Linked DNA regions of Homo sapiens: regions 2, 3, 4, 5, 6 and 7 are each linked to region 1. The links are contacts of gene promoters, found by promoter capture Hi-C in blood cells and fetal thymus (Javierre and others, 2016). All regions are on one chromosome and are shown on one strand. Each heading gives the region's core, a stretch centred on a gene start or on the middle of the fragment in contact. The rest is flanking DNA. Distances are from core to core; before and after follow the strand shown. Region 1 holds the start of UTP14A (UTP14A small subunit processome component). Region 2 overlaps AIFM1 (apoptosis inducing factor mitochondria associated 1). Region 3 has its middle 9.3 kb from the start of APLN. Region 4 overlaps AIFM1 (apoptosis inducing factor mitochondria associated 1). Region 5 has its middle 29 kb from the start of APLN. Region 6 has its middle 7.4 kb from the start of ELF4. Region 7 overlaps XPNPEP2 (X-prolyl aminopeptidase 2).

What was found. The method cuts DNA at HindIII sites, captures the fragments that hold promoters and counts their contacts. A CHiCAGO score of 5 or more calls a contact.
Region 2: a contact is called between a fragment that was not itself captured here and the fragment with the promoter of UTP14A in region 1, in 11 of 17 cell types (activated CD4 T cells, naive CD4 T cells, naive B cells and 8 more). The highest score is 11.6, in activated CD4 T cells.
Region 3: a fragment that was not itself captured here is called in contact with the fragment with the promoter of UTP14A in region 1 in 11 of 17 cell types (activated CD4 T cells, non-activated CD4 T cells, neutrophils and 8 more); the score reaches 18.1 in activated CD4 T cells.
Region 4: a fragment that was not itself captured here is called in contact with the fragment with the promoter of UTP14A in region 1 in 1 of 17 cell types (activated CD4 T cells); the score reaches 9.1 in activated CD4 T cells.
Region 5: a fragment that was not itself captured here is called in contact with the fragment with the promoter of UTP14A in region 1 in 9 of 17 cell types (activated CD4 T cells, total B cells, non-activated CD4 T cells and 6 more); the score reaches 13.1 in activated CD4 T cells.
Region 6: a fragment that was not itself captured here is called in contact with the fragment with the promoter of UTP14A in region 1 in 5 of 17 cell types (neutrophils, M0 macrophages, non-activated CD4 T cells and 2 more); the score reaches 8.3 in neutrophils.
Region 7: a fragment that was not itself captured here is called in contact with the fragment with the promoter of UTP14A in region 1 in 5 of 17 cell types (activated CD4 T cells, neutrophils, M0 macrophages and 2 more); the score reaches 7.5 in activated CD4 T cells.

What each region holds. Positions count from the first base shown.
Region 1 is chrX:129,904,449-129,908,169 of GRCh38, forward strand. It overlaps UTP14A (UTP14A small subunit processome component), which reads left to right and starts at 1,716. Exons shown (of 15, transcript NM_006649.4): 1 at 1,716-1,788; 2 at 2,919-2,994; 3 at 3,612-3,682. The coding sequence starts at 1,763. LOC105373335 (a long non-coding RNA gene) reads right to left here. Exons shown (of 3, transcript NR_188631.1): 3 at 2,816-3,721. The HindIII fragment of the contact is 20,573 bases long and covers 1-2,148 here.
Region 2 is chrX:130,157,493-130,161,213 of GRCh38, forward strand. The region is part of intron 1 of AIFM1 (apoptosis inducing factor mitochondria associated 1); the gene reads right to left. It also overlaps a transcript of RAB33A not described here. Among named protein-coding and RNA genes, the nearest start is that of AIFM1, 6.5 kb to the right of the region's middle. The HindIII fragment of the contact is 637 bases long and covers 1,306-1,942 here.
Region 3 is chrX:129,662,445-129,666,165 of GRCh38, forward strand. No RefSeq gene overlaps it. Among named protein-coding and RNA genes, the nearest start is that of APLN, 9.3 kb to the left of the region's middle. The HindIII fragment of the contact is 3,664 bases long and covers 1-3,391 here.
Region 4 is chrX:130,138,797-130,142,517 of GRCh38, forward strand. It overlaps AIFM1 (apoptosis inducing factor mitochondria associated 1), which reads right to left. Exons shown (of 16, transcript NM_004208.4): 7 at 1,737-1,821; 8 at 999-1,075. It also overlaps a transcript of RAB33A not described here. Among named protein-coding and RNA genes, the nearest start is that of AIFM1, 25 kb to the right of the region's middle. The HindIII fragment of the contact is 2,918 bases long and covers 1-2,804 here.
Region 5 is chrX:129,681,882-129,685,602 of GRCh38, forward strand. No RefSeq gene overlaps it. Among named protein-coding and RNA genes, the nearest start is that of APLN, 29 kb to the left of the region's middle. The HindIII fragment of the contact is 211 bases long and covers 1,562-1,772 here.
Region 6 is chrX:130,116,050-130,119,770 of GRCh38, forward strand. It overlaps a transcript of RAB33A not described here. Among named protein-coding and RNA genes, the nearest start is that of ELF4, 7.4 kb to the left of the region's middle. The HindIII fragment of the contact is 1,944 bases long and covers 643-2,586 here.
Region 7 is chrX:129,746,490-129,750,210 of GRCh38, forward strand. XPNPEP2 (X-prolyl aminopeptidase 2) reads left to right here. Exons shown (of 21, transcript NM_003399.6): 6 at 106-192; 7 at 1,118-1,264. Among named protein-coding and RNA genes, the nearest start is that of XPNPEP2, 9.4 kb to the left of the region's middle. The HindIII fragment of the contact is 1,587 bases long and covers 861-2,447 here.

The DNA.
Region 1 (3,721 bases), core at 466-2,965:
TGCACTCCAGCCTGGGTGACAGAGCGAGACTCCGTCTCAAAAAAAAAAAAAAAACAAAAATTAGCCAGGCGTGGTGGCGCATGCCTGTAATCCCAGCTACACGGGAGGCTGAGGCAGGAGAATCACTTGAACCCAGGAGGCGGAGGTTACAGTGAGCCAAGATCGCGCCACTGCACTCCAGCCTTGGCAACAAGAGCGAAACTCCGTCTCAAAAAAAAGAAAAGAAAAGAAAAGAAAAGAAAAGAAAAGAAATCAACAGTTACTAAATGCCACACAAAGTTCTGGGAAGCCAAAGACTGAGAGGTATCCGTTTTATTTAGCAACTTTGGGTGTCGCTGATCTTGTCCAGAGCAATTTCTGTGGAATAATGGGGCAAAAGCAAAATGGGAATGGATTACAAGAATGAAAAGAACGGGCCGGGCGCCGTGGCTCACGCCTGTAATCCTAGCACTTTGGGAGGCCGAGACGGGTGGATCATGAGGTCACGAGATCGAGACCATCCTGGCTAACACGGTGAAACCCCGTCTCTACTTAAAAAAAAAAAAAAAATTAGCCGGGTGTGGTGGCAGGCGCCTGTAGTCCCAGCTACTCAGGAAGCTGAGGCAGGTGAATGGTGTGAACCCGGGAGGCGGAGCTTGCAGTGAGCTGAGATCGCACCACTGCATTCCAGCGTGGGCGACGGAGTGAGACTCCGTCTCAAAAAAAAAAAATGAAAAGAATGTTCTTGTCTATTATTTTTCTACAATCATTAATTAATATATATATATATTAGGCCGGGCCCGGTGGCTCACACCTGTAATCTCAGCACTTTGGGAGGCCGAGGCGGGCAGATCACTTGAGGCCAGGAATTCTAGACCAGCCTGGCCAACGTGGCAAAACCCCGTCTCTACTAAAAATGCAAATATTAGCCGAGCATGGTGGCGGGTGCCTGTAATCCTAGCGACTCGGGAGGCTGAGGCAGGAGAATCGCTTGAACCCGGGAGGTGGAGGTTGCAGTGAGCTGAGATCACGCCATTGCACTCCAGCCTGAACGACACAGCAAGGCTCTGTCTCAAAAATAAATAAATAAAATTCTTAAAAGTTGATGGGAGAAAAAAAGTTGTTTAAAAAAATTTTTTTAAGTTGATGGGAGGTGAGGAAGCGTAGTTACTGATGGCCCCTTCTTGGATAAAAAAAATCTTTTGACTCAGGAAATGAAGAACAAAGCTGCAATTACAAGGGATCAAAGGCGATTTTTCCTTAAATGGAAGGAAACTTGTTATGTTCACCATCGGATCTCCGGGGCCCGGCACAATCTGGCCACTTAATAGGCATTCAATAAACCCCCGAGCTGGCTTGTGGTCGGCTTGCAGGACGCCGTCGCACAAGGACGGGCGCTGTAGTCTTTCCTTCTGGATTCTGCAGTGACGAATGAAGGCGCGGGCTCAGCCCCTGAGAGCGCAGCACCGTCGCCCTAAGCTAACCCACCTTGGGCCACGTGGAAACCAGGGGCCAGGAGGACAGACACCCGCGCGCCAGAGAAATACGGGGTGGGTGGAGAAAGGAATGCCCCACCCGCTGACAGCCGTTTCATCTCAGGCCTCCCAGTTTTCTGCAGGCCCCTCCCTACACGGCTCCTGCTTCTCTCACGCCTCGTACGGAACGGAAGTGACGTGTACGTCGCGAGCGATTGACGGAAACAGAAATTGCTTTGCGGCCCGCACGGAAATTGCTTTCCTTCGGCTTCCGTTCTTGGTCCATGTGAGAGAAGCTGGCTGCTGAAATGACTGCGAACCGGCTTGCAGAGAGGTGAAGGGCAACGAGGGGAGGGGGGATTCTGGGTCTCGTTGGGGGCCGGGTTCCCCAGCTTTTGGGAAATGGGAGCCCCCCCTTTAACAGATGGCAGTGGTTCCCCTGAAGAGCTGGCCATTCGTTCCTATTTTCCGCGATCCAGCCTTTAAAGCCCTTTTAATTTAATTTCATTCGCTTACTCCGCTCCTCAGCTGTATAGCCGCATCCCTGTTGGTCCTGATGCTGTTTCTGCCTCCCCAGCTCATTTACTGTGTTTCACATTTTTCGTCACGTGGCCCCTTTTTCTGCCTCTGTCGCGGCCCGATTTAATCCTCTGCGCAGGCAGTGCAGGCGTTATAAACTCCCCGAATCTTGGAAAGCTTTGCTGATTGGAGTCATCCACCACGTTTTGGCTCCTGTGATGTTTTGTGCCCCCCCCACCCCGCCCCCGGAACTAAATGTAGTCCGTTTAGTAATGTTGGCTTTGCAAATACTAATAATATATGCTGTTAGGTAATGGTACATTTTATAATTTGTTTGTGGGTACCAATCTCCTTAGTTAAGCACCTACTTTACTAAGCAAGCCCCAGGGAAAGTGGCTTACCCAGCTGCTTTCGACCTGTTTCTCCATTCCTGGGAACAAGGATCAAGATAACACTTTTGATTAGGCTGCCTATCAATGAGTCAAATATATGGAGGATGCTTAGAAATATTAATCGTGAAACTGCCTTGCCTCCAGGGCTAGCTAGCAACAGCGTCTTTGGCCATATTATTCTAGGGTCTGACATTTTTACAGCTTCCCATAGGTCATAGGAAATGTTGTGCCAATCCCTGAAAAGTGATAGCTCTTTTACATGCAGTTTTGAAGTCAGGCATCACTCTTGGAGGTGATGCCTGACTTCAGTCTAAATTTCACATCTTGACAAGTTTCCAAAGGCATTCACGCTGCTTTATATATCTTCTGAGGGATAGGGCTATTCTGTGCTGAAATTACAATGTTTTCGAGATTGTTTTAATAGATTAGACATTGCTTCAAATAATAATATTTCTTTTTTTAATTTCGACTTTTATTATAATTAAGGGATACATATGCAGGTTTGTTACATGGGTATATTGCATTCACATTTCTCTGTTGCCTCTTTTAACAGCCTTCTGGCTTTGAGCCAACAGGAAGAACTAGCGGATTTGCCAAAAGACTACCTCTTGAGTGAGAGTGAAGATGAGGTGGGTGACAATTGCTAAACTGCCTTCAAAATTAGGGTAGAGAGCACATTCCTGGAATGGAAGGGTGTGACAATGTTCTATGTATTTGTTCAGGTCTCTCAAATAAATTGCAAATGGTTAGTGTTTCATATATAAGATACTGTATCATATTAAGTGCTATGAGGATTTGGAAACTAAGTTACAATCACTACCCTCAAGTTGCATAAGTATAATTTATAAGACCAACCAAAACAGGCCCGGGTGATGGCTCATGCCTGTAATCCCAGCACTTTGGGAGGCCAAGGCGGGCAGATCACAAGGTCAGGAGATTGAGACCATCCTGGCTAACACAGTGAAACCCCGTCTCTACTAAAAATACAAAAAATTAGCCAGGCGTGGTGGCAGGCGCCTGTAGTCCCAGCTACTTGGGAGGCTGAGGCAGGAGAATGGCATGAACCTGGGAGGCGGAGCTTGCAGTGAGCCAAGATAACACCACTGCACTCCATCCTGGGCAACAGAGCGAGACGCCGTCTCAAAAATAAATAAATAAATAACAAGAGATTTTACATGAGACTCAATTTCCATGTTGTCTTTTCCCTCCCCCTCATCCTGATTGTTTTTCCTTTTCTGTGTCTTAGGGGGACAATGATGGAGAGAGAAAGCATCAAAAGCTTCTGGAAGCAATCAGTTCCCTTGATGGAAAGAATAGGTAACGTTCCCGTCAGTTAGGGCAGGTTATATAGTCAAT
Region 2 (3,721 bases), core at 374-2,873, 250 kb after region 1:
CTTTCTGGGCCATTTGGTGTCTGCTGCAACTACTCAATTCCACTGATGCTGCATAAAAGCAGCCAAAGACAATACATAAATGAATGGATGTGGCCATGTTCCAATAAAACTTTATGGACACTGAAGTTTAAATTTTATATAATTTTCATGTGTCACGAAATTCTTTTTTTTTTCAGCCGTTTAAAAAATGTAGGTCAGGCGTGGTGGCTCACGCCTGTAATCCCAGCACTTTGGGAGGCCTAGGTGGGCAGATCACGAGGTCAAGAGATCGAGACCATCCTGGCCAACATGGTGAAACCCCGTTAAAAATTAGCTGGGCAGGTGTGGTGGGGCATGCTTGTAGTCCCAGCTACTCGGGAGGCTGAGGCAGGAGAATCGCTTGAACCCGGGAGGCGGAGGTTGCAGTGAGCCGAGATCGCACCACTGCACTCCAGCCTGGCAACAGAGTGAGACTCCGTCTCAAAAAAAAAAAAAAAGAAAAGAAAAAAGACCAGGTGCAGTGGCTCACGCCTGTAATCCCAGCACTTTGGAAGGCCGAGGAGGGTGAATCACCTGAGGTTGGGAGTTAGAGACCAGCCTGACCAACATGGAGAAACCCTGTTTCTACTAAAAATACAAAAAATTAGCCGGGCGTGGTGGCTTATGCCTATAATCCCAGCTACTCGGGAGGCTGAGGCAGGAGAATAGCTTGAACCCAGGAGGCGGAGGTTGCAGTGAGCCGAGATTGTGCCATCGCACTCCAGACTGGGCAACGAGAGCGAAACTCCATTTCAAAGAAAAAAAAAGAGAAAAAGAAAAAAGAAAAAAAATGCAAAACCCACTCATGGCTCCTGGGGCATACAAAAGCAGGTGACTGACTGGCTTTGGCCTGTGGCTGTAGTTGGCAGACCCCGATCTAGAGCAGTGGTTTTCAAACTTGAGAGTGTATCCCAATGCCCTGAAGGTTTTATAAAACAAAGCTGGCCAGGCCCCAGGCCCAGAGGTTCTGATTCAATAGATCTGGGATGGGGCTCAAGAATGTGCATTTCTAACAAGTTCCCAGGGGATGCTGCTGTTGCTGCTGCTGCTGTTAGGGTGGGGACCACACATTGAGAACCATCTGTCTAGAGCAGGTATATCCTATCTTTTGGCTTCCCCGAGCCACATGGGAAGAAGAAGAATTGTCCTGGGCCACATATAAAATACACTAACACTAACCATAGCTGATGAGCTAAAAAAAAAAAAAAAAAAAAAAAAAAAATCGCAAAAAAATCTCATAATGTTTTAAGAAAGTTTACAAATTTGTGTTGGGCTGCAGGTTGGACAAGCTTAGTCTAGAGGCTGATACTTATGTCCCTGTCCTGTCTAGGCTTTAAAAGACAAACAGAATGGACACTGGTAGTAGCATCCCATGTATACTTGCAGAGATTAGAGAAGGAATTTCCCCCTTGCTTTCATAACGTTAGGCCACAGACGGGTAAAAACAAGCCCAATGTGGATCTGTGGTCTCTCATCTGAAATCCTGGGGACCATGTATAATTTGGAACTTTGAATTATCTGGTCTTAAGTATATGGGGCATATACCACATAGTGACACCTAGCAAGGTAAAGGGCAGCAATTCATAGTTAAACATATTAATATGACCAATCACGCTAAGTGATATTTTAAAAAGATTATAAAGTAGCCTCTCTCCAGTTCAGGTCAGGTTTTACTGGCAAATGAGTTATGAAAACTTGATAGTCTTAAATTTTGGTCATTCTACAATTTCAATTTCTGAATTACAGATAAGAGACTTTAGATCTACACTCTTAGAAAAGGAAATGTATTTTTCTTTACTGTTCTTCTTACCTGCTTTTAGAACTCTTCATCACCACATGAAATAAAATGGTTGAGATTTGGAAATAATGACAAATCATGAAAATAAAAACGTGAGCGGGGCAGAAACTTATCTCAATCTGGGCAAGCTTTTGATTTTCAGAAGCTTACAAAAATAATGAACCATCAGAAGTAGAAAGTGGTAACTCTCAGAGCTTAGAAAATGAAACTGGTTAGGAAAAGTTCCATGTGATTTAGTTCAATGAATTTAGTTTGTCCTCCACCTCTACCCCTGGTTCATTTACTAAAAATAAATTTTTTTTGTTTTTGTTTTTCTTTTTTTTAATTCTGTTTATTCCTCCAGAAGACCCTAAATACAGACATTATAACAAATTTGTTTTAATATCATACTCATGTTTATTCTCCTTCTGCTTGCTTTTCACAAACTGATAATACTAACAGTGTAGATTTAGGAAAGTTCAGCAGCTTTTGTCTCAATTTGCCAAAAAAAAAAGAAAAAAGCATTTAAAAGTAAATGGACTTTTTTTTTTTGAGACAGGGTCTCACTCTGTCCCCAAGCTGGAGTGCAGTGGCACAATCTCGGCTCACTGCAACCTATGCTTCCTGGGCTCAAGCCATTCACCAGCCTCAGCCTCCTGTGTAGCTGGGACTACAGGCGTGAGCCACCAACGCCCAGCTAATTTTTCTATTTTTTGTAGATACGAGGTTTCACCATGTTGTCCAGGCTGGAAAAGTAAATTGACTTTAAAAAAAAGTAAACTGGTTAATATTTAAACTACTGCTTGAAAAGAAATGTAATACACTACTCTCATTAATAAACCAACTTTTAAAACTTTTTATATACCTACAAAGTGACTTTAATTTTGTAAAATGTACTAAGTATTGTTTGCTTACATTCCCCCTCCCCACATTTTCTTTTCCCTATGAAATTCCTCCCAAACCTTTCTCCCCATAGCTTCAAAATTTTAGGAAATATTACATCGTGACTGAAACATGCCTTTTCACTTGTCTTACTAACATGGAAAAGCCAACTTACTCCTTGACTTTTCATCATGGCAGCAGTTTACTTATTTTAGGTTTTCTGCAGTCAGACCACACATACAATGCAATTTCTTCCTCACACTTAGGATTTCATTCTTAAGAAGCCAGTTTGACCTGTGCAACAGCGCCAGACGACACACAGATGTTTGCTCAATAAATATTTGTTGAATTAATGAAGGAAGGAAATAGAAATTCTTCCTAATTCTATTGATATTGACTGAACATTCTTATTACTATTAAAATTTTTTTTAAATGAAAAGGTATCAGTATGTTGCCCAGACTAGACTCAAACTCCTGGGCTCAAGTGATCCTTCCACCTTAGCCTCCAGAATAGCTGGGACTACAGGCATGCACCATCGTGCCCGGATAACTGAACATTTTAAATAATTCTTTGCAAAGAAATTTTAGCCAGGGCAGGCGCGGTGGCTCACATCTGTAATCCCAGCACCTTGGGAGGCCGAGGTTGGTGGATCACTTGAGACCACGAGTTTGAGACCAGCCTGGCCAACATGGTGAAACCCCGTCTCTACTTAAAAATAAATAAATAAATAAATAAATAAATAAATAAAATGAAAAAATAAACTTAAGAGTTTTTTTTAAAAAAAGCTTTAGCCAGATTCCATTTATTTTAGGTTGCTTAATCATAAATGAGTAACCTCAAACACCATAGACCAGCATTAGAATAGTAGCTAAACTAGCAAGTTCATTTCTGTAGGTTTTGTGATTTCCTGTTTTTCCATACTCCCAAAAGGCGTTTTCCAAAAACACAACTTCACAATTGAGGCACCCAGGGATCCTAAATGGTTAAGAGATCTATACGTTCTTGAGACTTGTTTCCTGAGGGTCAAACTGATTTTTCCAGCA
Region 3 (3,721 bases), core at 310-2,809, 240 kb before region 1:
GGTTCACTTTCCCATTCTGGGTGTGAGACCATTTAAATCAGAGACATGATGTTCATTATGTGAAACTTAGCCTGGAACTTATTCTGTGAATCAAAAGATCCTAATAATCATTTTGAGGGAATAATCTCTTTGTTGGACTTTGCTGGGGTTTCTTCTTCAGCTAACTGTGTGATTCTTGTCTTGATGTCCAATACCTCTTAATTCTGATCACCAGCTAGGTCCTAAGCCTGGCCACAGACCGAGATCTTGTCTTTCACACTTGCCCTCTTCCCAAGCACACAGAGTCAAATACTAACCATCACACGGTATCAGGTTTGCAAAAATTAGAGAAGTAGCCATTTTGCAGCATAACCACATTATCTCTATTCACATCTCAAGTGTTTAATACTATATTCAAGTCACTACATGCTAATTCCTTCCATGGGACACCTTTCAGCCACTGCCACATGGGCTCCAACTGCCCTGGAAATGCTTATTCCATTTCTCTGTTTCTTCCAACTTCTTTGCAAACTACATACCTTCTCAGATCGTCTGATATATTCAAGGAACACCAGGGGTTCCCACAGATACGCCTTCCTTGACACAACACCCAAGTTCCTGAAAAATGTTGTCAGTGGAATTCAGATAATCAGCTATATTTCAAATGTCTTTGAAGGGTTCACAGTTTATTAGCTGAATAAGTCCTAAGAGAGATTCTCTGAGGTGAAGAACTGTTCCTCTGTTCCTGCCCCCAGCCCAGCCCAGCTCCACAGAATTACCCCCTTTTCCCTACATCCTGCTTCATTCCTTCTGATCCTCTCCCATAGCCACACAGGTCCCCATTCCTCCTGTTTGTCTTTCAGAGCAGTTTCATTTCCTCTGCATATCCTCTATGACGTCTCCCAGGAGCCTCCATCCTTCCTCTCCCCTACGGTCTATAAATACCCTGGTCTCCCAGGGGAGGCATGTGAATTCCTTCCTTACGCAGCAAGGCCCTGTGAGTTAGGATAGCCACTCCCAAAGGAGCAGGTTTATCTCCAAAGTCCATTGAACCTTTCTTCCTCTTGCTTTGCTGGTTAATATTATCTGGGCTTATATCATGTAAGATATTATATGTCTCAAATCTGGCACCTTTGTTTGCAGAGCCAGGGCAAAGACTGTTGAGGACACGGTATTGAGTCTATGACCAGTTCCGTTATGGGCTTAGAGTTCTGGGATAATAAGGTCAAAGTCAGAGAGATAATGAGGTCAGCTTTGTTCTATCCCAAACTCAAGTTTGGATTGACACCAGTCACTACCTGAATCCTAACCATGGCCACAGACTGAGATCTTTTGAGGTTCTTACTTTTTGACTTTCATACATTTCCCATACACATAAAGAGAGAGTCAAATATTGTACTAAAATTTAAAAGGTAACACTTCTGGAGAAAAAAGAAAGAAAACTAGCCATCTTACAGCAAAACTCCATGTGTTAATTTCTCAGGGCTGCTATGACAGATTACCACAAACTTCGTGGCTTAAAACAACAGTTTATTTCTTCTCACTTCTGGAAGCCAGAAATCTGAAATCAAGAAAGCTCTAGGGTGAGAAGTTTATGATAAATTAGTGAAGTGATAGATGTGTAAATTAGTTTGATTGAATCTTTCTACAATGTATGCATAGATCAAAACCTCACATTGTACCCTATAAACATGCACAATTATCATTTGTCAATTAAAAATAAATAAAGATAAAATGAAAGTGTAAGGGAGGATTCTTCCTTGCCTCTTTCATCCCCTGGTGGCTCCAGGCATTCTTTGACTTAGGGCTGCATCCCTCCAATCTCTGCCTCCATCTTCATCTTCACATGACCTGACCCTTTTGTCTATGTGATATCCTTCTGCCTCTCTAGGGTCTCACTCTGTTGCCCAGGCTGGAGTGCAGTGGTGTGATCATAGCTCACCATAACCTAGAACTCCTGGCCTCAAGCAATCCCCCTGGCTCAGCCTCTTCAGTAGCTGTAGCTACAAGCACCACCACAACCAGCTGATTTTTTATTTTTTATTTTTTTTGTAAAGACGGGTCTTGCCGTGTTACCCAGGCTGTTCTCAAACTCCTGGCCTCAAGTGATCCTCCCACTTTGACCTCCCAAAGTGCTTGGATTATAGGCGTGGCTGCCTCACTCTTATAAAGATTGTCAGCAATGGATTTAGGGCCCACTTGGATAATCCAGTATGTCTCTCTTGAGATCCTTAAACTTCTTACACCTGCAAAGACCATTTTTAAATGAGGTGTCAAATTTACAGGTTCCAGGGGTTAGGACATAGACATATCTTTTCGGGGGCTACTGTTCAACCCATTACACCCCACTACCTCCATTTACATTTCTGGCATGCTGGAATCAACACAGCATGAACTTTCTGCCAATTTAACCTCCAAATATCTGTCAAATCTACACGTCTCTATGTTTCTGCTGCCCTATTCTTGTTCCAGCCCTGTCATTCCTCACACATCATTCTCCATAGCAACCAGAATGGTTATGCCAGTTGGCTTGAAAACCTTCTGTGGCTCATGGCTCTTAGGACAAGACCAAACTCTTAACCATGGCATGCAAGGCCCTGCATAATCTAGCCCCTACCCACTTCGCCAGCCTCTTCTCTTGCCTCTTATCCTCTTTCTATCTGCAATGCCATGTCCCTCCTGTCACAGTGCCTTCCCAATACTTTTTCCTCCTACTGAATGATTCTCTGCTCTACCCTGTCTTCTCCTGGCTAATGCCTATCATCAATCAGCTCATCTCTAATGTCAAATCACTCCTCCTCAAGAGATGTTTTCCTTGGCCCTCAGACTGGCTGAAATTCCCCTGTAATCGCTTCTCATAGTTCACAATTCAGTTTGTGTTCAGTTAATGTCTGGCTCACCCCATCCACCCCTCACTGTCCAACTAGACTGAACTCCATAAGGGCAGGGGCCATGGCTGTCTGGTTTCATGACTGTGTCCTCAGCATCTAGCCAGTGTCTAACTCATAGTAGGTGTTCAATCATTTTCCCAATCAATGCATATATGAATGAATGAATGAATAGGTCTGAACATCTGTGCTTTGCTCCCTCAAGTTCTTCTAAAAAATGAGAAAACAATGTTTCACTCCCAGGGTTGAATAAGAATCAAAACAAGAGAATGAAAGGGAAGGAGCTTTATAAACCATGAAACGCCTTACTAATTTGAGGAATCATTACAATACTGGCCAATGTAACCATTCTTCTGGGGGAGTGGGAAGTGCACTGTGCACGACTTAGGGGTAGCAGGAGGAACAAGGGTGGAGGTGGGGAAGGATACTTGAGTTCTACATTCCTCTGGATAAGAAGAATTTCTGTGGCTCTGCTATGTAGGATAAAATTACAAGAACATTCAATTCCCCTGCTTCAGGCTTGAAGCTTATAACTGATCACCCTCTGGGATCAAGAAGAAAATGCCATTCTGCTCAGGTGTAAATATTGCCCGGAGTCACCTCGGGTATTTAGGATTTTGACTGTCTTCCTTTAAAGCATCTGACCCAGGTGCAGGCTGAGGATAGGGTGACAGCCTCCTGGGCTGGATCCCTCTTGGCTGGTGCTTCCCATGAGGTGATCCATCAGCCGTGGCACTTGCTTAAGGCACTGCCCAGCTGACAAACGGCTTTGAAGTGTGCCTTTTGGCTTTGCATTCTTCCACTTCCTGGCCTTCTTGGCTTTCACTGTTAGCAGGCAGGCGGAGGGGTTGGCG
Region 4 (3,721 bases), core at 96-2,595, 230 kb after region 1:
AATTTTCTCCTTGTATAAAGTGACTCAATTATAACTTCTATGTTATTAATGCAAATTTATTTCTTCATGGTAAAATTCCTTCTATAAACAGTGGTTCTCAATTGGTGGCAGTTTTGTCCCTATCTTCCCCAGGAGGACATCTGGCAATATCTGAAGACATTTTTGGTTGTCAGGGCAAGTAGGTGCTCCCAGCATTTAGTGTGCAGAGGCCAGGATGCTGCTAACATACTACAATGGCATAAGACAGCCCCCACTACAATTATCCAGCTCAAAATGCCAATACTGCAGAGGCTGACAAGCCTTGTTCTAGGAAGAACTTAAAAGACAGTACACAGCCTGGCCAACAGGGTAAAACGTCCCTACTAAAAATACAAAAAAAAAAAAAATTAGCCGGTCGTGGTGGCACATGCCTGTAATTCTAGCTACTTGGAAGGCTGAGGCACAAGAATCGCTTGAACCCGGGAGGCGGAGGTTGCAGTGAGCCAAGATCGCACCACCGCACTCCAGCCTGGGTGATAGAGCGAGATTCAGTCTCGAAAAAAAAAAAAAGACAGGACAAATCTTATCCCTGAAAAATGACAGCAGTTTTTATAAGCACAGTGTTAAGAAGCAGAACACCTCCTTGCTTTTTATTTAGGTACTCTTAACTTTTTTCTCAGAAGTCTCTACACAGCACTTGCAATGAAAAATGCCAAGAGGCTGTAAGGGGTTCCAATGAATCAAACACATCAGGAAAAAACAACTATGGAAGAGCAATCAGAAGGATCTATTGCAAGCAATACAAACACTCCATTTTTTCCCTAGGAGCTTAAAACCCTTGAGTGAGGTATCTGAGGTGCAGAGAGAGGAAGTGACTTGTTCAAGGCCAGATAACAAGTCTGGAGAAGAGCCATAAATAGAACTTGGATCTCCCAAGTCCCGGGTGGGCACTTGGGGACTGCAAGATTATACTACTTCTTCAAAAACAACACAAGGAAAACACTAAAGCAGACAATTACCTTTCTGAAAAGCGTTGTTCTACTCTTCACCTCTGCTCCAGCCCTATCAATGGCAGACAGACTTCTTGGAGTACCTCCTGGAAATAAGAGAAGGAAAACCCTTTAGCCCAACAAGCAGGAGCCAGCCCAAACAATACTCCCTCCACCACACAAAGGTGGAGCCCTCTTCACTTAGCACCATGGCGGCAACAACAGGATAGGATACCAAGGCTTTGTTTGCCTTCAGCTTGCCTCACAGCAGGCTTTCTGTCAGTTTCCTTTGAGAAGCAGATTTGAGAGTCTGTCTTCAAGGGGTACACCCTGCCCCTAGGTGGCCAAAAGGCCTTACTTTTGGCTTCCATGTTCTCTTCTAGTTTCTCATGAGGATTTGCCAGCTAGCATAGCTACATGGGTTTGATAAATTGCTTCTGTCTCCTCTCTTGGTTTCTGATTGCAACTGGCAATGAAGCCACAAACGACATCACTTTCAAGGCACAGGGCACAGGGTGAGGGTTAAGCAGGGAGAGAAAAAAGGGCAACTTCTTCATGCCTCTACCGGGAGAACAGCAAGGATCATCCAGAAGGGCTGGTGATCCAGGATGCTTTGACACAGCCAGCTTTTGTACCAAGAGAAGACACTCACTTCAGAGAGTCTGGGTTTCCATTTTCTTAAGTAGTAATGCCTTCCATAGAGAAGGCTGGACTCTAAAACTTGAATGAGCTGTATCAGGGAAGAAAGCCATCTCCAGAAATGCTCACCTGTTGCAATCAAGCACTTTTCATAGGTTATTTGAGAGCCATCATTAAGTTTCACCATGTTGTCTCTCACATCCAGCTGTACTACCTGGTACAGTCACACACATACACAAAAGAGGTAGAGATGAATTAGCATTGAAAAAGTTTTATTGAGATATAATTCACATCAAATTCACCATTTTAAAGTGTGGAATTCTGTGGATTTCAGTATATTCACAAGGTTGTGCCACCATCACCACTATCTGATTTCAGAACATTTCCATCACCACCCCAAAACTCCAGGTCAATAAGAAGTTGTCAGCCCAGGACAGGCACAGTGACTCATGCCTGTAATCCCAACACTTTGGGAGGCTGAGGCAGGCAGATCACTGAGGCCACGAGTTTGAGACCAGCCTGGCCAACATGGCGAAACCCCGTCTCTACTAAAAATACAAAAATTGGCCAGGTGTGGCGGCATATGCCTGTGGTCCCAGCTACTGGGGAGGCTGAGGCAGGAGAATCGCTTGAACCTGGGAGGCAGAGGTTGCAGTGAGCCGAGATCATGCCACTGCACTCCAGCCTGGGCAACAGAGCAAGATTCTGTCTCAAAAACAAAACAAAACAAAAAAACCCCAAAACCACAACAACAAAAACAAACAAAAACAAAAACAAAAAAAGTTGTCAGCCCAATAAGAAGAATGAGTTCTTGACCTAAAGCGATCCTTAAGAAACCATATCCAAGTAATCATGGGAACCACAGTTTCTGGTACCCAGTTTTTTTAGGCAGTCATATGTTGGAAATTGGCAATGAGAAGGCAGGCAACATTAGAGCAAGTCATGACAGTCCCAAAGCCCTGACCCATGTGTGGAAAAGGAGAATCGGAACAGCCTTTCTTATATGGCTGTTTGGAATTACTTATTATTACTTTATTAATAAGTCTCCTACATCTACAACATTTTTACAGAATGCTTTCTCCAACTTGTAGCCTTCACGGAAACTTGGCTCTCTCTTAAGGAGAGCTTACACATAGAGGCTGTTCGTTCCCCCACACTCCACATCACAAGGCCAGGAGGAGGTGTTGGCATTCTGCAAGCTTCTTGAGGTTACTGGTCTGCTGCTTCCAGATTCTTGTACTTTCATTCTCTTCTGAGGGACATCAGAGGAGTCCTATATTCCTACGAATCACTGTTTTGAGCCACCTCCTGGCTACTCCTCCTGATTCACTGAAGACCTTGGAACCTGGCTCATACTTTTCCTCATCTTGTTATCTCCTAAACCTCTCCTCCTACCTCAATTATTCTACTTGTTGGTCACAATTTTCCATCCCTTCAGCTTTCGCTCAGTCTGTCTCCTATGCTTGCTTTCAATTTTCTCTGTTTATTTGACTAGCTGCTCCATTCTAACTAATTTGGGCCAATGGTAGAACACCCAAACTGTTCTTTTGCCAGTACCTTTAATTCCCTTGCACCCTACTCCTTCTTATGGTTAAGAGCTTGAGCTTTGGAGTCAGAGAGAATAGGGCCCCAGTCTTTGCACCACTCTTTACTAGCTGAGACCATTCAATTAAGCACCTACTATGTATCAAGTTGAGACAGTGATCCTTGCTGCTTTCAGAGTTTAGTGGCCAAGACAATTTAACAAGCACTAACAATAATCAAGAGTGACAAATGTGATGTAAGTGGTAAGAACAGTGCAGGTAGCGCTGGGAACATATGACATGTGCAATCTAGTCAGGTTGGGTTGGGTAAAGCTTTCTAGAGGCAATGACATGAACTGAGATCTGATGGATAAGCAGCTTCTTTAGCCTCCTTTGATTTGTCCTTGGTAAGCTCCCTCTTCAATCCAATCCCGCTACTCAACCCTCACGGTGTTCGCTCTCAGATAACCATCTTATGTTCTATTGTATTGCAAAAACAAATGAAGCCATTAGATGTGATCTTCCATAGCTTCCCATGAGGCATGAGGGCTCCCCACCACCCCCGTCCAGCCTATTAACATGCTTGTCCCA
Region 5 (3,721 bases), core at 417-2,916, 220 kb before region 1:
TTAGGCTCTTCTTGGAAGATGTCACGTATTCTAGGAGAATTGTGACCAATTGCAACCAGACACACTCTTGGTCCTCTTGGTCCTTTTTTGTGTCATGGACCCTTTAGCAATCTGTTGAAGCCTTTGGTCCCCTTTTCAGAATAATATTTTTAGATGCATAAAATACAAAGGATTTAAATGGAAACCAAGTATAGTGAAATATAGCTATCAACTTTTTTTTTTTTTTTGAGATGGGGTCTCACTCTGTCTCCCAGGCTGGAGTGCTGTGGCACAATCATAGCTCACTGTAACCTCAAACTCCTGGGCTCAAGTGATCCTCTCACCTAGGCCTCCCAAAGTGCTGGGATTGTAGGCATGAGCCACTGCACCCGGTCTCCAACATATTTTTTAAAATTTGTGATGTCTGTGCTTCATTATTAGCACATTATATAACTAAATCTAGCTGTGAGTCTTATAACTATCACAATTTCAAAGCAATGATGAACATATTGCTATTTCAAGAGATGTGCTTCATTCTAATGTGATATGAAAATATGTGTAATTTCTGCTGGTGGCCAAGTCACAGGTCCTCTAATACTATGGTGGTTTATCACCTGCATTCATGATTGAAGGAAATGCTAAAATATAGTTAAAAGATAGCAGAAACAAAGATGTAGTTTTCCCCATCTAAGTTCATGAATCCTCTGAATTCCAGCCACAGACTACTTAGAGGAACAGGGACCCCAAGTTAAAGATCCACATAGCTTCCTGGTGTTCCTTTGTGGAAATTCCCTTTATCTTAGTCCATTGGGGCTGCTATAACAAAGGCCTGCAGACTGGTTGGCTTATAAACAGTAGACATTTATTTCTTACAGTTCTGGAGGCTGGGAAGTCGAAGATCAAGGCACTAGCAGATTTGGTGTCCAACAAGGGCCCAGTTCCTTCGTAGATGGCACCTCCTAGCTGTATCCTCACAAGGTGGAAGGGCCAAGGGTACTCTCTTGGGCCTCTTTTATAAGGTTACTAATACCATTCATGAGGGCTCTGCCCCCATGACCTAATCACCTTCCGAAGGCCCAGCCTCCTAATATCATCATGTTAGGGGTTAGGATATCAACATATGAATTTGGGAGGACACAAAAACTCAGATCATAGCACCTTTTGTCTCAAGTCTCCTTGCTGGAGGGCTCTTTTCCAGGATCATGGTTGGCGATTTGGTTTTTAGAAACAGGCTGAGGCCTGGCCTTCCCTCCACTGCACTCTTAGAGCCTGGGTTGTTTGGGTTTCTCTTGTGGCAGGTAGTACTTTCCACCTCAAGTAGGGTTCCTCTTTCAGCTAATGTCAACTGAACATCTGCTAAGTACAGGGCTCTGTGCTAAGCCCTGGGCATAGGAAGTTACTCCATAAAGAGATAGTTATCAGTAATAATAACTCCCATTTACCAAACACTTTTTACATGTCAGACACCATGTTGACACTTCATTCATTCATTCAGCAGAGATTTACCAAGTGCCTACTATGTGCCACTGTTCTAGAAGCTGTAGGTAGAGCAGAGACTAAGACAAACTCCCAGCTCACATGAAGCTTACACTCTAGTGGGGGAAGACAGATGATATACAAAATAAGTAAGCAAGTGAGTGTGCAAAAATAGGATAAGTGCTATGGAGAAAAACAAAGCAGAGAAGGAGGAGAAGGAATGCCCAGAGAGATGAATGCAATGTCCGATTAGTTGACCAGGGAAGGTCTCCCGGAGGAGGTGGACATTTCAGACTAGGCCTGAATGATGCCACTGAAGCTTTGCAGATATTTGAAGGAAGAGCATTCTAGGCAGAGAAAATAGCTAGGCACGGACCCTGAGGCAGGAATGTGCTTAGCTGTTTGAGGCATGTGGAGGAGGCCCGTGGGGCTGGAGAAGAGTGAGTGAGAGAAGGAGTGGTAACTACGAGAGCAGAGAGGAAATGGGGGTGGGGGCGGTGACAGATTGAGCAGGACCTTGGAGGTCTTATGGTGACCTTGGCTCTTACCCAGAGGGAGATGGGAAGCCCATTGAAGGGATTGAACACAGTCCCCACAACAATGCTGTTGCGTGATAGTATTAGTATTCTCATTTTCAAATGAGGAAACGACAGCTCAGAAAAGTTGAGTGACTTGGCTGGTGAGTGGCAGAGCTGAAACTGGACCACAGACCTTTCTGGAGGTCACATGCCTCCTCCCTCCACCAGCCCGAGGCTCGGAGTGGGGTCAGCATGTTCTCTACTCCCTTCTATTTCCTCCAGACTGTTGTTCCTTTGTCATTTCCCCAAGGACCATACAGTGCTCTCTGTCCACCATTCTTGCTGTATCCACCAACCTCTGCTACTGGACTATGAGCCCTTTACTTACTGAGCACCTGCTATGTGCCAGGTACTATGTTAGATCCTGAGCATAAAATGATGAATAAGAGAAGTCAGCTCCTTGCTCTCCTGGAGCTTTTATTCTAGTGGATGGGAAACACAGGTAGGTCAGAAAATTTTAAAAAGCTTTCTTTTTCTTTTTTTTTTTTTAGAGACAGGGTCTCACTCTGTCACACATGCTGGAGTACAGCAGCGTGATCGTAACTCACTGGACTCAAGTTATTCTCCCGCTTCAGCCTCCCAGGCGTGTGCCACCACACCTAGCTTTGTGTGTGTGTGTGTGTGTGTGTGTGTGTGTGTGTGTGTGTGTGTGTGTAGAGAGAGACGGGGTCTTACTATGTTGCCCAGTCTGGTCTAAAACTGGGCTCAAATGATCCTCCTGCCTCAGCCTCCCAAAGCACTGGGATTATAGGCATGAGCCACCACAACCGCCAAAAATCTTTAGTAATAAGAGCCATGCAGAGAAAAGAGAGTAGCTATTTTGTAAAGAGGTAGGGAAGGCCTCTGTGAGGAGGTGACATTTAAATTGAGATCTGGATCATAAGAAGGAACCATCTCAGAGGGAGAGCATTCCAGGCAGGAGGTATGAGAGCAAAGGCTCAAAGGTGGTCATGAGTTTGGCCTGTTAGAGGAACAGGAAGAAGATGCATGGCAAGGGATGGGAACATGGCAGGAGATCAAGGTAGAAATGCAGGGGCCAGATCAGGCAGGGCCTTCTAGGTCATGAACATATGGGAATCCACTGGAGTGTTTCAAGCAGGAGAAGGAAATGATCTGATTGGTGTTTTAAGATCATGCTGACTTCCTTATGGAGAGTGGATTGGTGGGCAGAGGGATGGTGGAGAAAAGTGTAAAGATTAAGGATATGTTTGGTGATGAAGTCAACCAGATAGCCTGATAGATTAGATGTCATGGATGAGGTAAAGAGAGGAATCAAAGATGGCTTCTATGTGGGGGTTGAACAACTGCATGGATGGTGTCTGTTCAGGCTGCTACATCAAAATACCTTAGATTGGGTGGCTCATAAACAACAGAACTTTTTTCTTATAGTTCTTGAATGTGAGTCAAAGATCAAGGCACCAGCAGATTCAGTATCTGATGAGGGCTCACCCTCTACTTCATAGATGGCACCTTCTTGCTGTGTCTTCACATGGCAGAAGGGGCAAACAAGCTCCCTGAGGCCTCTTCTGTATGGGCACTAATCCCCTTCACCTGGGCTGTCTCCTAAAGTCCCCACCCCTTAATACCACTGCACTAGGGATTAGGTTTCAACATATGAATTTTGGGAGGAGAAGGGGGGCCAACATTCAGACCATAACAGATGGGGATGCCATTTACAGAACTGAGGA
Region 6 (3,721 bases), core at 365-2,864, 210 kb after region 1:
AAGCAGTGCCTGATAGCCCATCATGTTTTCCTGCAAATCACCCCAGGTCCTTTTTTTTTTTTTTTTTTTTTTTGAGACAGAGTTTTGCTCTTGTTGCCCAGGCTGGAATGCAATGGCGCGATCTCAGCTCACTGCAACTTCTGCCTCCCAGGCTCAAGTGATTCTCCTGCCTCAGCCCTCCTACCTCAGCCTCCCGAGTAGCTGGGATTACAGACGCCTGCCACCACGTCCAGCTAATTTTTTGTATTATTTTTATTATTTTGAGACGGAATCTCACTCTGTCATCCAGGCTCGAGTGCAGTGGCGGGATCTTGGCTCACTGCAACCTCCGCTTCCCGGGTTCAAGTGATTCTCCTGCCTCAGCCTCTCAAGTAGCTGGAACTACAGGTGCGCATCACCATGCTCAGCTAATTTTTGTATTTTTAGTAGAGACAGGGTTTTACTGTGTTGGCCAGGCTGGTATCGAACTCCTGACCTCATGACCCACCCACCTCGGCCTCCCAAAGTGCTGGGATTACAGGCGTAAGCCATCGCGCCTGGCCACCCCAGGTTCTGGAGACAAGGTGGCTGGTTTCTTCCTCCCTCTCCTCACTTAACTCCTTGGCATGTGGATCTGTGTGCAACATGGGCTGGTTATACCAAAGCTTTTCTTCACAGATGACGGTCTGTGGCCTTGGCCTGTACTGGGGATGGAGGTGGACTCAGGTTAAAGCACAGGCATGCAGATGAGAGGATGGAGTTGGTAGCCACTTCCCAGATCACAACTTTCATCTGCACCACCCTCATAGGCTGGGAGACATGCCTGACTGGGGCTCTTGGAAAGCCACTCGGTCCCTGCAGCCCACCCTGCTCAGTTTACAATCATTAAAACAGTTATACATTGGCCGGGTGCTGTGGCTCACGCCTGTAATCCCAGCACTTTGGGAGGCCAAGGTGGGCGGATCACGAGGTCAGGAGATCGAGACCATCCTGGCTAACATGGTGAAACCCTGTCTCTATTAAAAAATACAAAAAATTAGCCGGGCGTGGTGGCGGGCTCCTGTAGTCCCAGCTACGCGGGAGGCTGAAGCAGGAGAATGGTGTGAACCTGGGAGGCGGAGCTTGCAGTGAGCCGAGATTGTGCCACTGCACTCCAGCCTGGGTGACAGAGCAAAAGACTCCATCTCAAAAAAACAAAAAAACAAAAAACAGTTATACATGTCTCCTCCCAGCACCATGAAAGCCCCTACAAAACTTCAGAAGATCACCGGCTTTCAATTGTCTTCGAGCTGGACAGCAGCTCAGGAGGGCTGGCTGCCTGGAGGGGATGATGCCGACACAGGAGGCGCTGCTGGCTGTGAGTAGGTGCTCACCCTGAGCGTGGTGGCTGCTGGGAGGCACTACCCCCCAACCCCCGACAGCTGGGGAGTGGGCCTGTTGTTTGGGAAACAGATTCCGTGTTCTTCAGGAGGGCCCTCTGGGATGGTGGGAAATTTGGAGGGTGTGGGAGATGGAAAGACACAAACCTGTGGTTCATTTGAAAAGAAAAAAAAAAATGAGGACGAACTGGCTTTAGGCAGAGTCAGCAAATGAGATGAGGGCAAGCCCCCTGGAGTCTCTAACTCCACTGATCCCCAACTCCTACCTTGGAGCCAAAGCTCAGCCTGCAAAAGTCCCTGGGACCAGGGCAAAGAGGCAGGCACCTGCCCTGGGCTCCTATCAGAGGCATTGCAGCATTCAGGGGTTTGGGGCTTCTGTCCAGTGGTGCCAGAGTTAACCCCTCAGCCATGAATAACTGCTGGCCCAACACCTGTCCTGTGTCATCTCTTTGACCTCTGATGTGTCCTCAGAGTGAAGCTGGGGAGGCCCTGGCCTTAGCTGATCTCCCCACAGCCCGGTGCAGGCGGACCAAGATTGTCAACACAGGGAGGTTTTGCCGGAGTGAGCACAAAGTGAATTTCTGCAGGCCCTTGAGTGTGCTGGGGGATGGGGACACAAGTAGCCATCAAGCTGACATCTCTTCCTCAGATGGAGAAGAGACCCAGGGGAAGGGAGGGGCCTCCAGTCACACTGCACGGGGCTCTACGTATTATATAAAGTGAATGCCACTGCCCGGAAGTGTGCAAGCAGGTGGCAGTAAAGCCAGATTCAGGAGAGTTGGGGAGGGCACTTGGAGAGGAGAGATCAGGAGGGGCTCAGACTGGGACACCACAGGGGACCATGGGGCCTGGCCCCAGATATCCAGGACTAGGGATGAGGTAGGATGGGGGATTGTCTATGAGGGGAACTCATCAGCCCCCAATTTCATCCACTCTGCATCCTCCCAAGGGGCAGGCCTGGGCTGAGGTTTGTACCAGGAGGTAGACAATTCTGCTCTTTGGGATTGCCACAATCCACTGAGAAGTGAGGACAGGCCTGAAACATTTGCTAGACAGAGGCATAGCAGAGGCCCAGTGGAAATGCAGCCACTCTTCAGTTTCCCCACCCTGCCCCCACATCGGGGTTGAGGGTTGTTGTTGTTGAATGCAGAAAAATATAACAATGTGTATAAAGGTGCAGTATGAGTCACTTCACGGAATGTCTAGGCCCCTTTGCTGGCAGCAAACAAGCTTTCCAGCCCTCTTTTGAGGAAGCCATCCAACTCGGCGGCTGCTGCTGGTTTGTGTGTGTGAGGGTGTATGAGTGTGCATGTGGGTCTGTGTGCAACATGGCTCTCTGGGCCTTGCCTGCCTATGTGCGTGTCTGTGTGGGTCTCACAGATGTGAGTGAGGGCATAACTGTGTTCGGGGTGTGCATGTGTGTGCATATGCCTGTGTGTGTGTGGGCTCAAGTCTTGGATGTCGGGTCCCCTCGTGCATGCATGTGTGTTCGTGGAGGGCATGTGCACATGTCTGTCTGCAAAGCAGTATGGTATGTGAGCCTGTGCGTCTCAGGATGTCTACGTGTACATTTTTTCCTCGTCGCTGCCAAATTATCTTCCCATCTCTCCCCTCACGAAGAGAAGGGCTGACCGAGGGGAGCTAGCAGTCCAAGACGGAGGTGGCCAGGGACGGGAGAGGGGCTGGAGGGAAACCAAAGCAATTCCACTCTTCGGAGGAATGTGTCAGCCAAGGATGAAACTGAAACCGAGACAGCAGCTCAAAGGCACCAGACCCTGGGATCGTCCAGGGGCTTCGGTTCCTCCCACTCCCCCACCCCCTCCAGCCAGCTGTGGAGATTAGTCAGCCCAAAATTCCCATCTCTGCAGCCTTAACTTGGGGTTGAGTTTGTGATGCTGAGTTAGAACTTGGACCCGTGGTTAGCACGTGACCCCATTAGCTCCCATTATCACATTAACACAAATTAGTTTATCAGATCCTCTCCTGGTCACCTAGGGGGGCTTGGGGAAGAGCTCACCGCTCAGGTCCTGCTCTGGGAGAAGAAGCCAGCGCCGTGGCATCAGGAGAGGGCAGAGGCTGAGACTGCAGGTCAGATTGGGGACAGAAAGAGGGGGCAGGGGGACGTCAAGCTTTGCTGATCTGATCTTTCTCCTCGATGGTGCTCTGGGAGGAGACACCTTGGGGAGGGGTCTGGTAGAAAGGAGGGGGCTTCCAGGAATAGCTGGGCACCGCCCTGTAGGAAAAAGGCCCGGGCTCTGAGGTCTGGGCGGGAGACAGGCGGTATTTCTCCTGGCACACAGTGAGACCTGGGAACGTTTAGGATCCTTTGGATTCCCCCCGCCCCTTCCCTTTCTTTATGGGAA
Region 7 (3,721 bases), core at 404-2,903, 160 kb before region 1:
TCAAGGAAGACACACATGGTAGGACCATCAGACAGAACCCCTGGCTGGAGAGCCTGGGGCTGGCCCTGAAGGTGACCTCTGCATTGCTTCCTATCTTTCTTTCAGTTGGCACCACTCCTATTGTCACCTGGCTCCTCACCGAGATTCCTGCTGGAGGGCGTGTGGGTTTTGACCCCTTCCTCTTGTCCATTGGTATGCTCTTCCTTCAGTCCCTGAATTTGTCCATGCTAACGAGGGTGACTCAGCTTCCCTAGGATATAAAGAAATGGACCTTGGTAGAAGGAGGGGCGGTGGGACTATAAAGATAGAGCATTTGAAATTGTAGTTGCAGAATGTTTTGCAATGAGGATGTATTCATGGATTGTGTAATTAAAATACATTTAAAAGAATCAGTACAAATATTTTAAAATTCATGAGTGCAGAGACCCAACCTAGAAGACTCAGTGAATCATTAAAGAGCTAGTGGATGAATAGGCCAGGATGTGCTTGAACCCAGAACCATCCTCTGTGCCCTGGAACCCTGCCAATGATGATGCTGGAATCACATGGTAACCCTCTTCTGGAAGGTAGCTTAGAAGGGTCAAAAGAGTTGGGAGGGCTTCTGAGTTTAAAAAAAAAAGGGCCCCTGAGAATACAACTCCCGGAGTTCTGGGGCCTCAGACAGCTGGCAAGCCCATTCCCCCAAAGGGGAGTCCTCATGAATATGTACTGAAAGGCTTGTGCTTTAGAACTGGCTTCTCTGCCAGCCTGTCCAATGGCCTGAACATCACCATTCCTTTTGACTGTGACACTGAAGCCCTGATAAAATAATTAGTGCCCAAGAGAAGGACCACCCACAGCCACTGGCAATGAAAAAGACAAGCTTAGCCAATTTGTGGCAGTCAGTGTTAGAGTAGGCTCAGGGCATTAGGCTTGGAAAGCAGAAAGAGGATGAGAAACATACCCCAGCGTGGGCATACATGCCGGGGGTGGGGGGTGGGCAGGCTGCTGGGGCAGGCTCCGGGCAGCTGGGCTGCAAAGGGAGGCAAAGGGAACCAGGACTAACTTTGCCTGAATCACAATTTTTTCCTGGGGTGTAAATGGGCAAGGGACAAGTGACTCCTTCTTGTCTCTGCAGACACCTGGGAGAGTTATGATCTGGCCCTCCAAGGCTCTAACAGACAGCTGGTGTCCATCACAACCAATCTTGTGGACCTGGTATGGGGATCAGAGAGGCCACCGGTTCCAAATCAACCCATTTATGCCCTGCAGGAGGCATTCACAGGTGATTCAGTAAGCCCAGTTTCCTTCCCAACTTGTAGCAACGCAGGTCCCGGCTGCTATTCCGTAGGTGGCAAACTTCATCATCAGAGGTACCAAAGCAGTGGTTTGCAAACCTTAGCATGCACCTGAGTCACCTGGGATGCTTGTTTAAAATGCAGATTTCAGGGCCCCCTCCCCTTGAGGAGTCTGAATCAAAATGTCCTCCGGCCATATTTAGAAAATGTTGGGTTAAAGAATGTTAGGATTTGAAACAAGATGGAGCAGGAAGGGAGGAAAGAAGGGAAACAGAGAAAGATGAGAGAAAATATCCAACCCCTTTCAAGAGAGAAAAAATCATGATATGATTTGCTTGCCTGGTGGCAGAGACTGATCCATAATGAATCATTCAGACCTTTACTTCTGACCCTCTTGTGATGAAGAATTTAGATTTGTGAGATGGCTGGGGTCAGGTGGGCCAGGAGTGGACAGAGGAAGTAAATAACTAAGTTCAGAGTCATTCTGTAGCACAGATTACAGTTCAGGTTTTGCTGGACCAATCAGGAAGGTTAGAAAAATATAACATCAATAACCTTGACCCCGTTGACACTATCTAAATCCATCACAAAAGAACAGTATGTTGTAAGATTCCTGTAAGTCGTAACTAAAGTCCTGACCAGGACCAGCCTACTGATTATGAATCAGTGTCTTGGCCACCAACCAGTCCTATCTCCCTGGGAATTCTGAATGAGCCAATGAACTTGGATTCCTAGTAACATTGATCAAGCCAAGAGATCCCTTTCCGCATGCAAGTCCACATAATTTCTCACTTAGAAAGGAGCCAATACAGCAGGAGGGAGATTTCAAAATAGCAGCCATGACGAAACAAGTGAAAATTGTGTCCATTTTTCTTTATCTGTTCTGATGTAACTTCCAGAATCATTCTTTCTGCATCTTGACACCATTTTTAAAGAAATTTGTTATCCAAGACTGTTAAATCATAAATAAAACTCATCTTATTCAGATAAAGAAAGTCAAAGTTATGTCGGGAAGGGGAAGGGAAAAAAGAAAAACCTTCCTGGGGCTGGAAGGGTTTTGTCACTTCCCAAAAGTGAGGGGATGCCGAGTCATCACCCGCTGCCAGTCTTCAAGAAAAAGGCACCTGGAGCTTGAGTTTGGAAGCCGAAGAACAGAGTTCAGCTTCAATAAGCTTATAAAGACGAGAGAGACTTTCCAGCCACTTGCAGATTTTAAAGGAGAAAGGAGAGTGCAAAGGGCAGAACATGAAAAGTTCGCTACTCAAACATACCTGTACGCACCAGACCATTGAAATTTGGGTTCATTTGGTTTCTCAGAAAGGTATCATATTCCTGAACCTTGAAAACATAATTGCAAGTGAAAGAAGCCAGTCAGAGAAGGCCACATATTGTACAATTCCATTTGTATGAAATATCCAGCACTGGCAAATCCATAGAGACAGAAAATAGATTAGGGATTTCCTGGGGCTCAGGGGAGGGGGGATAGGGAGTGACTCCTTAGTGAGTACAGGGTTTCCTTTGGGGATGAAGAAAATGTTCTAGAATTAGATCGTGGCGATGGTTGCACAACATTGTGAGTATGCTGAAAGCCACTGAATTGTGCACTTTAAAAAGATTAAAATGATATGTTTTATGTTATGTGTAAAATACACATAACATAAATTATGTGTAAAATATGTAGTAAAATAAACCTACAAAAATGTATTGTACCCAAAGCTTTGGTCATTGTTGAATAGTTTTACCTGTTCACATGAAATATTTTTCACGACATTAAGTTATTTATGCTCATATCTGAACCCAACTAGGACCCTTAATGTTTATGGCCTTCGGCCAGCAAACTCCTAGTCCTGCCTAGGGGTAGACTCTTTGAATATCTTGCAGGGGGCAGGGATAGAAGATGAAAACTAAAGTCATAGAACCCAGATATAAGCATCTGAGAAAGGACGGTGCTGTGACACAGAGTTTAAGGACAGATTTGGAGACTGAGAATGTTATCAAGACAGTACGGTGTCTGTACAGATTAAGAGCGTGGGCCATGCAGTCAGACAGACCAGAGTTCAAATCCCAGCTCTACCTCTTGCATCCATGAAACCCTAGACAAGTCACTTTACCTCTCTGAAGCCTCAGTTTCCTTATCTGTAAAATGGGATGGGTAAGAATTAGAACAATGCACATGGAGTGCTTAGCCCAGTACCCGTGGCTTAGTAAATACTGGGGTTACTGCAGAGAAAGTTGAACACGGCCCCAGCCCTACCCCTTTGTCCTTCAACTAGGACTGCTCTCTTGATCTCAGTCTGCATGATTATTTATTAATCAGAAAGATACAAGAGTTACTACATCTCAAGATACCATTCTGTGTGCTTTACAAATATTAATTCATTCCATCCTCATAGCAGCCCTATTGAGGCAGATGCTTATTATACTCCATCCCCATTTTACAAATG